Regions from separate parts of the Homo sapiens genome. Here all the other regions are linked to region 3. Evidence: promoter capture Hi-C in 16 types of primary human blood cells and fetal thymus (Javierre and others, 2016). All regions are on one chromosome and are shown on one strand. The core of a region is centred on a gene start or on the middle of the fragment in contact, and the rest is flanking DNA. Distances in the headings are between cores, read along the strand shown.

The links. The method cuts DNA at HindIII sites, captures the fragments that hold promoters and counts their contacts. A CHiCAGO score of 5 or more calls a contact.
Region 1: a contact is called between a fragment that was not itself captured here and the fragment with the promoter of MED6 in region 3, in 1 of 17 cell types (naive B cells). The highest score is 7.2, in naive B cells.
Region 2: a contact is called between a fragment that was not itself captured here and the fragment with the promoter of MED6 in region 3, in 2 of 17 cell types (total B cells and naive B cells). The highest score is 6.8, in total B cells.
Region 4: a contact is called between a fragment that was not itself captured here and the fragment with the promoter of MED6 in region 3, in 2 of 17 cell types (fetal thymus and naive CD4 T cells). The highest score is 6.2, in fetal thymus.

The regions. Positions count from the first base shown.
Region 1 is chr14:70,824,851-70,827,550 of GRCh38, forward strand. No RefSeq gene overlaps it. Among named protein-coding and RNA genes, the nearest start is that of MAP3K9, 17 kb to the left of the region's middle. The HindIII fragment of the contact is 2,696 bases long and covers 5-2,700 here.
Region 2 is chr14:70,776,615-70,779,426 of GRCh38, forward strand. The region is part of intron 2 of MAP3K9 (mitogen-activated protein kinase kinase kinase 9); the gene reads right to left. Among named protein-coding and RNA genes, the nearest start is that of MAP3K9-DT, 31 kb to the right of the region's middle. RefSeq lists an enhancer at 30-109. The HindIII fragment of the contact is 3,380 bases long and covers 1-2,812 here.
Region 3 is chr14:70,599,131-70,601,914 of GRCh38, forward strand. MED6 (mediator complex subunit 6) reads right to left here and starts at 1,525. Exons shown (of 8, transcript NM_005466.4): 1 at 1,486-1,525. The coding sequence starts at 1,507. RefSeq lists an enhancer at 1,027-2,226. The HindIII fragment of the contact is 992 bases long and covers 1,380-2,371 here.
Region 4 is chr14:70,353,831-70,356,543 of GRCh38, forward strand. All of the region lies in intron 3 of SYNJ2BP-COX16 (SYNJ2BP-COX16 readthrough), which reads right to left. All of the region lies in intron 1 of COX16 (cytochrome c oxidase assembly factor COX16), which reads right to left. Among named protein-coding and RNA genes, the nearest start is that of COX16, 4.5 kb to the right of the region's middle. The HindIII fragment of the contact is 8,104 bases long and covers 1-2,713 here.

The DNA.
Region 1 (2,700 bases), core at 103-2,602, 230 kb after region 3:
GGGAAGCTTCTCACAAAGGCAGTGTCTACCTCAGCTTCTTTCTCCTTTCTCTCCCATCAAACTCAAATGTGAGGCAGCTAAGAAAGTTGAGTCAGCTCCTGAGAAAATTCAGGTTTTAATAACCTGCCTTCCTTAGGTGCTTGTCCAACTCCTCTGGCAAGGACCCTTCTTGGAGGGCTGAGATTGTTTTCCTGGAGGCCACCAGACTTCAGGCTTCTAACCTCAGAGCCTGGGTGCTTTGTCTTACAGCATGGTCTTTCTGAGCTGCTGGAGACCTCTCAGGTGTGAACCTAGTCTAAGCCACCATATAACTGGGGTTCCAAAGGCTTATCTCTGTTGTTATGAATCATCCACTGGATACATAGAGGGATGATAACTGGTTGCGGATCATTAGGTTCCTGTCCCTAGAGTTGTGTGTCCCAAAGCAAGCCACTCAGCATTCTGGACCTCAGGTTTTTTTCTGTCTTCCTCTTTCTTTCTTTCTTTCTTTCTCTTTCTTTCTTTCTTTCTTTCTTTCTTTCTTTCTTTCTTTCTTTCTTTTTTCTTTCTCTCTTTCTCTCTCTCTTTCTTTCTCTCTTTCTTTCTTTCTTTCTTTCTCTTTCTTCCTTCCTTCCTTTCTTTCTTTCTTTCTTTCTTTCTTTCTTTCTTTCTTTCTTTCTTTCTTTCTTTCTTTCTTTCTTTCTTTCTTTCTTTCTTTCTTTCTTTCTTTCTTTCTTTCTCTGACAATTTCTCTCTGTCACCCAGGCTGGAGTGCAGTGGCATGATCACTGATCACTGCAGCCTCAATCTCCCAGGCCCAAGGTATCCTCTTGGCTTAGCCTCCCAAGTAGCTGGGACTAGAGGCATGCATCACTATGCCCAGCTTTTTTTTTTTTTTTTTTTTTTTTTAGTAGACACAAGATTTCACAAATGTTGCCCAGGCTGGTCCCAAAGTCCTGAGCTCAAGTGGTCCTCCCTCCTTGGCCTCCCAAAGTGTTGAGATTACAGGCGTGAGCTACCTCGCCCAGCCTGGACCTCAGTTTTCTCATCTGGAAAACAGAAATTCAATTTAAGAAATATCAACTAAGGGAGGCTGAGGCGGGAGAATGGCTTGAACCCTGGAGGCGGAGGTTGCAGTGAGCCAAGATCGTGCCACTGCACTCCAGCCTGGGCAATAGAGTGAGACTCCATCTCAAAAAAAAAAAAAAAGAAAAAGAAAAGAAATATCAATTAAATGCCCATCATGTACAGAGCCCAGAGCTAGGTGCTAGAGATCTAAGTGCAAAGGTAAAAAGATATAATCTACGCCCTCAATAAATGTAAAGGCAAATAGAAGAGATACAATTTTTTTTTTTTTTTTTTTTGAGACAGGGTCTTGCTCTGTCGCCAGGCTGGAGTGCAATGGCACAATCTGGGCTCACTGCAACTTCTGCCTCCCAGGTTCAAGCAATTCTCCTGCCTCAGCCTCCTGAGTAGCTGGGACTACAGATGCATGCCACCACACCCAGCTAATTTTTGTATTTTTAGTAGAGACAGGGTTTCACCATGTTGGCCAGGACGGTCTCGATCTCTTGACCTCGTGATCTGCCCGCCTCAGCCTCCCAAAGTGCTGGGATTACAGGCATGAGCCACCGTGCCCAGCCGAGATAGGAATTTTTAAAAACAGACCCACAGCAAGGTGAAATAAAGTAGATGTGAAGTAAGAATATTAATACCTGTTTTGCCTACCTCATAAGGTTGTGCCAAGAATCAAATGAGATCATGGATAACAAGTATCCTTAAAGCACTATGCAAATGTAAGCAAGTAGTAATTATTATTTGGCTTTGCGGGAGATACCAATTGGGTTGTTTGCCTGAATCTCCCCTTTTTCCCAAGAACTGCTCCTATAGCCAAATCCACATGATAACAGTGGATTGCCAAATCCACATGATAACACCTCCTCAGGTGCCATTTTGGTTGATTGAGCCAGGTGCAGACCCCAGGAATGGGAATGAAGGTGGCTCAGTCTCAGTCACTCTGGGCTCTTGAGCAGAGGAAATACAAACACTGGAGGCTTAGAAAGCTATTTTCTGACTAGGTGGACTGAAAATTTAAAAATACCAAATTGGGCCAGGCACGGTGGCCCACGCCTGTAATCCCAGCACTTTGGGAGGCTGAGGCGGGTGGATCTCCTGAGGTCAGGAGTTCAAGACCAGCCTGGACAACATGGTGAAACCCCATCTGTACTAAAAACACAAAAAATTAGCCAGGCATGGTAGCGGGCACCTGTGATTCCAGCTACTCGGGAGGCTGAGGCAGGAGAATCTCTTGAACCCTGGAAGGTGGAGGTTTCAGTGAGCTGAGATCATGCCACTACACTCCAGCCTGGGCAACAAGAGTAAAACTCCGTCTCAAAAAAAAAAAAGAAAAGAAAAAAAAAACCCAAACTGCATCCAGAGAAAGCATGTAGACGTTCAGAGAGGAATGAAAACAAGAGGCTCCCTGTCATTCAGGCCTTGGTTCCCATCTGTCCCTGCCTGCTGTAAACAATATCCCACCAAGGGCCAGCTTTTGCTAAAGATAGCTCTGGTGGGCTTCAATCACCATTAAACAGTTCCTAAACTAATTCTGCTAAGGCTAATGTAGAGCAGAAGACTCCCTTGGCCCATGTAACAGCTGTGTCATCATTCATTTACTCATCCCATCAGTCAATGAATATCATTGAATGCCAGCTGTTTACA
Region 2 (2,812 bases), core at 104-2,603, 180 kb after region 3:
AAGCTCTGCTCTCTCCGTTAGAGATTCACCCTCAAAATAGGTATATATTTGGCGCTAGCAGTAGCAGGTAGGTCCCATATAGCTGTTCACTCGGGCCCCAAATAAAGCATTCTCAACCTAGAACCTCCACTTTGATTTAAAAAAAAATCCTCTCCCATCAGCCCTTAAGACACTAGGCTATAAAAACTATGAAACACCCTGAACTAAAAGATCTCTCACTTTTTTTTTTTTTTTTGAGAGAAGTCTCGCTCTTGTCCCCCAGGTTTGAGTGCAATGGCTTGATGTCAGCTCATTGCAACCTCTGCCTCCCAGGTTCAAATTATTCTCCTGCCCCTGCCTCCCAAGTAGCTGGGATTAAGGCGCCTGCCACCACACCCGGCTAATTTTTCTATTTTCAGCAGAGACAGGGTTTCACCTTGTTGGCCAGGCTGGTCTCGAACTCCTTACCTCAGGTGATCTGCCTACCTCGGCCTCCCAAAGTGCTGGGATTACAGGCGTGAGCCACCACACCCGGCCAAAGATCTCTCACTTTCTACCCATCTCTAGGGCGCTGTTGCTTCGACCAATGCCCACCTCAAAGGGGTAGTCATTTCTCAGGGGAATCTCCAGTTCCTGCCCCCATCCATATCAAATCACCATCCACTTATCTTTTTTCTTTTCTAAAATGTGTGCCCTATCCAATGACTCATCCCCAGAGCAGCAGAAAGCACTCTTAGACAGTGGTGAGAAAGGCTGAGGCTCATATATCAGAAAGGCAAAGAATAAGTGTCCACTCCAAAACCTCTGGACCCCAGCTCCACTGTTCACCAGCAACCATAGTCAGCCAAGGGAGAAGCATTACTCACTGCTCATTCATCCCAGGAAAGACCCTCCTGACATACTCAAAAGCAGAGGGAATGGTTATTTTACAGAAGGAGGGTCTCCTTGCTCCATCACATCCCAGGGTTCAGAAAGTCTTCCCTATCAAACCAGTCTGATGCTATTAAAAGTAGTCAGGGGATACTGGCTGGAGTCCCAAAGCATAAGGACCACTGGTCACCAGAGAGTCACAAGCCCTGGCAAGTCAACTCTTAAGACACTAGATCCTTGGCTGTGAAAAGATATATCAGGACCATGAGGCCCCACCCTGACTAATGCAGTGTCCACCTAGTTCTCTGCGAAGAGACACCAGCACCATGGGTGGAAAGGGCTAAAGCCTCTAAGACATAACCAACATCCAAGACCAGAATTATAATCAGGACAGAATCCAAGATTTCACTCCAAAAAATCAAGATTCCTCCCAGCCAACACGCATGCCTGAGAATCTACCTACTTTGGCAGAAACTGGTAAAAGATACCAACCACTGTGGTTACTAGAAAAGGTCGACAGTCACCTACACAGAAAAAAGGAAAGGAAAAGAGAGGGATAAATAGATGATCCTATAAAGGAAACTAGGACGGAACCTCTCTCTCTCCCTTTTGTTTTTTGTTGTTTGTTGTTGTTGTTATTGTTGTTGTTGTTGTTTTGAGACAAGGTATCACTCTGTCACCCAGGCTGGAGTGCAGTGGTATAATCTCAGCTCACTGCAACCTCTGCCCCCTGCTGCCTTGGGCTCAAGCAATCCTCCCACCTCAGCCTCCCAAGTAGCCTCAACCACAGGCACACATCACCACGCCCAGCTATTTTTTTTTTTTTTTTTTGAGACGGAGTCCCCCTTTGTCACCCAGGTTGGAGTGTCACGACGCGATCTCTGCTCACTGCAACTCCGTCTCTCAGGTTCAAGCAATTCTCATGCCTCAGCCTCCTGAGTAGCTGGGATTACAGGTATGTGCCACCACACCTGGCTAATTTTTGTGTTTTTAGCAGAGACGGGGTTTCGCCATGTTGGCCAGGCTGGTCTCAAACTCCTGACCTCAGGTGATCCACCGTCCTCGGCCTCCCAAAGTGCAGGGGTTACAGGCATGAGCCACTGCACCAGGCCAAACTTCTCTCATTCTGGCCATATAAGTCTACACCTATAACACTGTCATCATCATTGCTAGCATTTACTGAGCACTTACCACATGGCAGGCACCATGCTAAGCATTTTACGTGCAGTACTTATATAAAAACAGATGTACTGTTTTAATCTCTATTTACGGATATGTACTGTTTTAATCTCTACTTACAGATGAAGAAGCTGTGGCTGAGAAGTGAGGATATTCCCCTGAGCTACCCAGCCAGAAAGTGGTAAAGTGGGGACCACTGGCTACTCTCATGCTCTTGATGATGCCTTACCCTACCCCGTCCACCCATCTTGTTTGAACACCTAACATGGAGGATGCCTGAAACTAGAATGTACAGAGGAAGGGGCTCCTTAGAAGGGGCTCACAGAATAAACAACTGCTCTCTGTGCTGTAACGAGAGGACAGGGTTTGGTCCAGGGGGAGAATCAGAAGAAAGACCACTCCCAGCAGAGGGAATAACGTGAGTCCAGGTCCAAGAGGGCTGAGGGGCCTTGACATATCTAAGAAATAGTCCCTTGTAGCTGGAGCAGAACTTTCATGAGGTAGAAAGGGAGAAGAAGGAGCCGCAGTGAAGGGCTGGGGCAGGACTGGAAGACTACAGACCCTGCCAAGGAACTTGGAAATGACCCTGGAGTCACAAGTAGTTTTTAAGCAGAAAAGTGTTGTGACAAGATTTGAGTTTCAGCAAAACAACTATGGTTGCAGTGAGACAAATTAAACTGAAAAAGCAACAGACTGGCAGTGAGCCACAGTAAGTAACCTATTACAATTGTCCAGGGGACAATGGTGAATGACAAACTCAAGTACTGGGGATGGAAAGGATGGG
Region 3 (2,784 bases), core at 275-2,774:
CAATCTCTCTTATACTGTCATTACCTCAGGCATCTTCAAAGAAGTCAGACCTAATTCAAGGTGACAGGCAGTTTTGAGCCAAGTGACTCAACCGAGAAAAATTATATAAAGGTAAAATGTACTTTGTGTGCTATAAAATAAAGGAGGAGACAGATGAAGTGCGTTAATAACCAAATAATTAGTATAGACCATTTAGATAGTTCATCATAACTGGATCATGCAATAACCAAATACACAACAGGCCAGGAAATAACATTTTCAGAAATGGCCTCCTAACTGGTTTTCCTAATTCTACCCTTGCCCTCCTACACTGTTCCCAGCAGCCAATGTAGTCCTAAAAAAAAGTCAGATCACATCATTCCTCTGATGGAAACCCCTCCAATGGCTCTGCGTTTTACTCAGAGGAAAAGCCAAAGACCTTATCATAGCTTTCAACACCTTTCTGACTTCATCTCCTTCCCACATCCTCTCTCACTACCCTCCAGCCACACTGACCTCCTTGCTGTTCCTTTAACACACCAAACACACTCTTATTTTAGAGTCTTTGCCATGATCCTAACAATCTGAATTATAAGTAAAACATTTTATAAACTAAATATTTCTCTTTTTTATTCTGTAGCAAGGCAACATGTTGACATAGCCCAAGCATTCTAACAGCATTCTAACCATCAGCAAGTGATGAAATAAATAATGAAAGACACGTATGTAAAATCATGATCCAGAAGTGCTGCAGATCGCCAGATAAGTATAAATGAGAATATTTGTAATAAATGTGTTAGACCCCAATCCAGTTAATATTAAAAAAAGGCATCTCAAACATCTCCCTTTAAAAATCAAGTACTATATACACAAAAACAACTCTACATGCTCCCCAAGATCAAGCAGCAGTTAAGGGGTGACATCTCCATACATTTATTCACTGACTGATTCAATATTTGAGTACTTCTGCAGTTCAGCTGTGAAAAAAATACGACCCCTGCCCATAATAATTGCTGGACGTTCGATGTAAAGTATTATCGACTCAAAAAAAAAGAAAATATCTGGGATTCATGCTCAGGGACCCGTGTGGCGCGGTCTAAAGAATTAGGCAGCCACCATGCCAAGTCCCAAGAGATGAATCAAATCAAGTTGGCTTATTACCCCATTCCCTTCTCTGCCTAAACGCCATTCCTTCACTCCAATAGAATAGCCCTAATGTTGTTGCAGAGATACGTGTGTAGAACAAAACTCCAGCTCTGAAAGCTCAAAACCCAGAGCTTCTTCCAACCCCTTCTCTCCGACGCTTCCAAGAGACGCTCCAAGAACTCAGAAAAAAAAAAAAACTCGTCAACGTTTCGCTAGATCACAGCCTTGGGTTGTCCACAAAAACCACTCAAAAAAGCTTGAGACTTCACACAAAGGAACCTAAACCTTGAAACCGCGAGCTATAACATCCCAAACTGGTCCACAGACAATCAAGAGACAAAATATAGCAATACAGTATACCTCGGATATCCACCGCCGCCATAATTCCGAGAGCGTTTACAGGTTCTCTTTCCGGCGCAAAGTAAACGTAAGCCTAGGCCGCCGGAAGCAGCGGGTTGAAGAGAGTGCGCATGGGTGAGGAGGGACGTAGAGCGGAAGAGGGGGCGGGGCGGGCAGGAGAGAGGCAGGGGGTGGAGGTGCGGGTGGGAGGGGAGGAGACGCGAGGGGGCGGAAAGCGGGAGAGGCGCGGGAGGCGGGAAACGTGGGGTGGGGTGGGGTGGGGTGGGGTAGGGGAATGGGAGGGGACGGGACGCAGAAAGATTGGTGCAGGGGAGCAGGGAAAGACTAGAAGAGGGATGGGCCAAAGAAGGAGAACGGGAGGGCGGATTACTGGGAAAAAAATTAGAAGACTTAGAGGACAGAAAGACCGAGTGGAGTCCCGCCCCACGCCCACCACTGATGGAAGAATTCTGCCTTGATCGTCTGTGATCGTCAAGAAAACAAATTCTGATGCTGTAGAGTTGTGCTTGGGAGTGTCTCTTAATTTTAAAAGCTCCCCGGGTGTATCCACTGAGCTATCAGATTTAGGAACGATGGTCATTTATATTTTTCTCCCTGCCTCAGGTATTGGGATGGGACAGGACTTAAGAATTTGGGAGTCATTGGCTTTTATGTGACTAAATCCATTAAAAATCTAAACCAATTAAAGAAGCCTCTGAGAAAAATTTCACAACACAGGAAATGCTTCTGAAGTGAAATATTAATAAGATTAAGAGAAAGGGAATACCCCTGGGTCCCAGAGTAATGAGCAAATGTCTGCATTCCAAGTAGTCTGGAGTAGGTAGCAAGGCTCCAAAGAGGGAATGATTCTGTGTACGGGGAAGCTACAGAAAGCCTCAGATTCTCAAGCTTCAGTGTGGCTCTGTAAAAGCAAAACGATACAGAAATATGCAAACAACACACAGATACTAGGAAGAGGATGCCAAAATCTGAAGGAGGGATGAGGGCGGGTGCCTACATCTTCTCCAAAACTTAGGTACTGTGAAGACTCCCCAAGAATTTAACCACAACCCAGGAGCAAGAGGGGAAGACCAGAAATTTAATTGGGATTTTCAACCTCATAGACAAGGAATTAAAAATTTGTTAACTCCGTAGAATAAAAGTACGTTGCCTGTACATTTCAGTTTGGGAATTTTCTGCCTGAGATGGTATGTATAAAATAGGTGTCCCAACAGAAGTATGTGCATGCACAGAGTAAAGTTTTGAGAGAGAATTTTTCAGGAGGGCCTGGTTGGGAGCCTAGTGGGAGGACATTGCAAA
Region 4 (2,713 bases), core at 16-2,515, 250 kb before region 3:
ATAAATATATTTATATACCAATTAAAGAATTAAATATTAAAAGGTATAAAACATAAATGTTTATAATTTTGAAGTTGAGAATACCAACAAAACCTTGAGGTTATGAATTTCATTTTTTTTCCCATCAGAAGATTTTATCATCAGAGGCTATAAATTTCAAAACCAAGTATATGTGACCACATAAAAATTTAAAACTTCTGGGTGGGTATGGTAGCTTATCCCTGTAATCCCAACTACGCCGGAGGCTGAGGTGGGAGAATCACTTGAGGCCAGGAGTTTAAGACCAGCCTGGGCAACACAGCAAGACCTCCTCTCTTAAAAAAACAACAATAATAATAATAAATAAAACTTCTATGCTGACAAATAAATGAAATAAAAACAACATAAAATCAAAAGAGAACAAATCAGAAAAAATATCTGTTATAGATAAGCAGCTAATACCTGCAATGTCAAAATGTAAGATTTGTATACGCAAAATAACTTTTGTTTCAGTTTCAATGAAAAGATACAGGCAGGCCATGCTGAAAAGTCCAGCCATGTGACTAGAGGGCTGGGGCTTTGAGCTATGTGATATCAACCCAACCTCCAAACCTCAAGGGAGAAGAGGAGAGCTGGAGACAGTTCAGTCACATGGCCAATGGTTCAATCACCCATGCCTATATAATGAAACCCCAGTAAAAATTCTGGACAGTGAAACTTGGTTGAACTCCCTGGTTGGTAAACACATCAATGTGCAAGGAGGGTGACATGCCCTGATCCCATGGGGACAGAACACAGAAGCTCTGCATGCAGGACCCTCCTGGACCTCGACATATGAGTCTCTTTTTTTGGCTGTTCCTAATTTATATCCTTTATAATAACACTGTAATCATAAGTATAGTATTCTCCTGAGTTCTATGAGTAGTTCTACTAAATTATTGAACCTGAGGGGGTGGCTTAAACCTGGGGTTATGCCTGGTGTAGGAAGTTAGGGGAGTTTTGTGCAGGACTATGCATAGAGTGTGTGTGTGCGTGTGTGTGTGTGTGTGTGTGGTGTTTGAATTGCACTGCAACACTTACTGCCTGTTACCATAGAATCCACACTCCTAACTAAATATCTTCATTTATCTCCAATCTTCTCTTATCTACTGAAGGACACTGATTCATCAATTCTCTCCTTTCCTGTATCATCAAAATCTTGCTCACCACTGCAGGATCCAGCATAAAAATGCTATTATTTCTCCTATCTTATTAACAAACTTTCCTGGACACCACTTTCCCACCAGATACCAACCTCTTTCTTTGTTCCTATATGCAGAAAAATTTCTCAAATGAGTTGCCTATACTAGCTGCTCTTCCTACTCTCTCTTAGATCCATTCCAACCATCAATGACATCCACATTACTAAATCTGGTGATTTACTTATTTTCATCTGATTTCATGAATAAAATTTCATACAATTGATCACACTCTCCTCCTCTTCCCTCATATCTGGTTTTTCTTTTGCCACAGAGTCACTCTTTCTTAGTCTCCTTGATTGTTTCCTCCTGTATACCTCAACTCTCCAATGTTGGCATACCTCAGGGCACAATGTTTTCTCTTCTTCTCTATTCACTTATTTTGTAATCTTAATCAATCTTATGGCTTTAAAAGCATATGTTGATTACAACATTCCATACAGACATGATCAAGCACGAATCCCAGTACCACCGGGTGAACAAAGCAGACCAGATTAGTACTGCAAAATCTGGAACCTAAGTTCCAGGAAAGGGAGCCCAAAATATTATAGTAGGCTACTGCCTACAAGTTAAACATGACGACATCCTGCTAAACTAGAAGACTTAAATAGGATATCATTTCCTAATATTTAAAATGTTCAAGATATAATACAAATTCCATTGTCATGACAAGAACCAGGAAAATAACTTTACTCAAGTTTGGATATTTGACCCTCCAAACCTCCTGTTGAAATCTGACCCCCAATGTTGGAGGGAAGGCCTAGTGGGAGGTGTTTGGGTCATGGGGACAGATCCCTCACGAAAGGCTTGAGGCTGTCCTTGTGGTAATGAGTGAGTTCTCACTCTATTAGTTCCCTTGAGAGCTGGTTGTCAAAAAGAGCCTGCCACCTCCCTCCCCTCTCTCTTGGCATGTGATCTCTGCACATGCTGGCTCCCTTTTGCCTTCTGCCACAAGTGGAAGCAGCTTGAGGCCCGCACCAGAAGCAGATGCTGTGCCGTGCTTCACAGTATGTACAGCCTGCAGAACCATGAGCCAAAAGAAAATTCTTTCCTTTATAAATTACCCAGCCTCTAGTATTCCTTTATAGCAACAGTGGTCCCCAAACTTTCTGGCACCAGGGACCAGTTTCATGGCAGACCATTTTTCCACAGATGGTGGCGGGGGTGGGGGGTGGGATGGCAGTTTGGGGATGAAACTGTTCCACTTTAGATCATCAGACATTAGATCTCATAAGGAGCATGCAACCTAGATCCCTCACATGTGCAGTTCACAATAGGACTCGTGCTCCTATGAGAATCTAATGCCACCTCTGATCTGACAGGAGGTGGAGCTCAGGCAATAATGCCCACTCACCTACTGCTCACCTCCTACTGTGCAGCCCAGTTCCTAACAGGCCACAAACCAGTACCAGTCCGTGGCCCAGGGGTTGAGGACCCCTGCTTTCTAGCAACACAAATGGACTAAGACAAACTTGAATTTTAAAAAGGCTATGGAG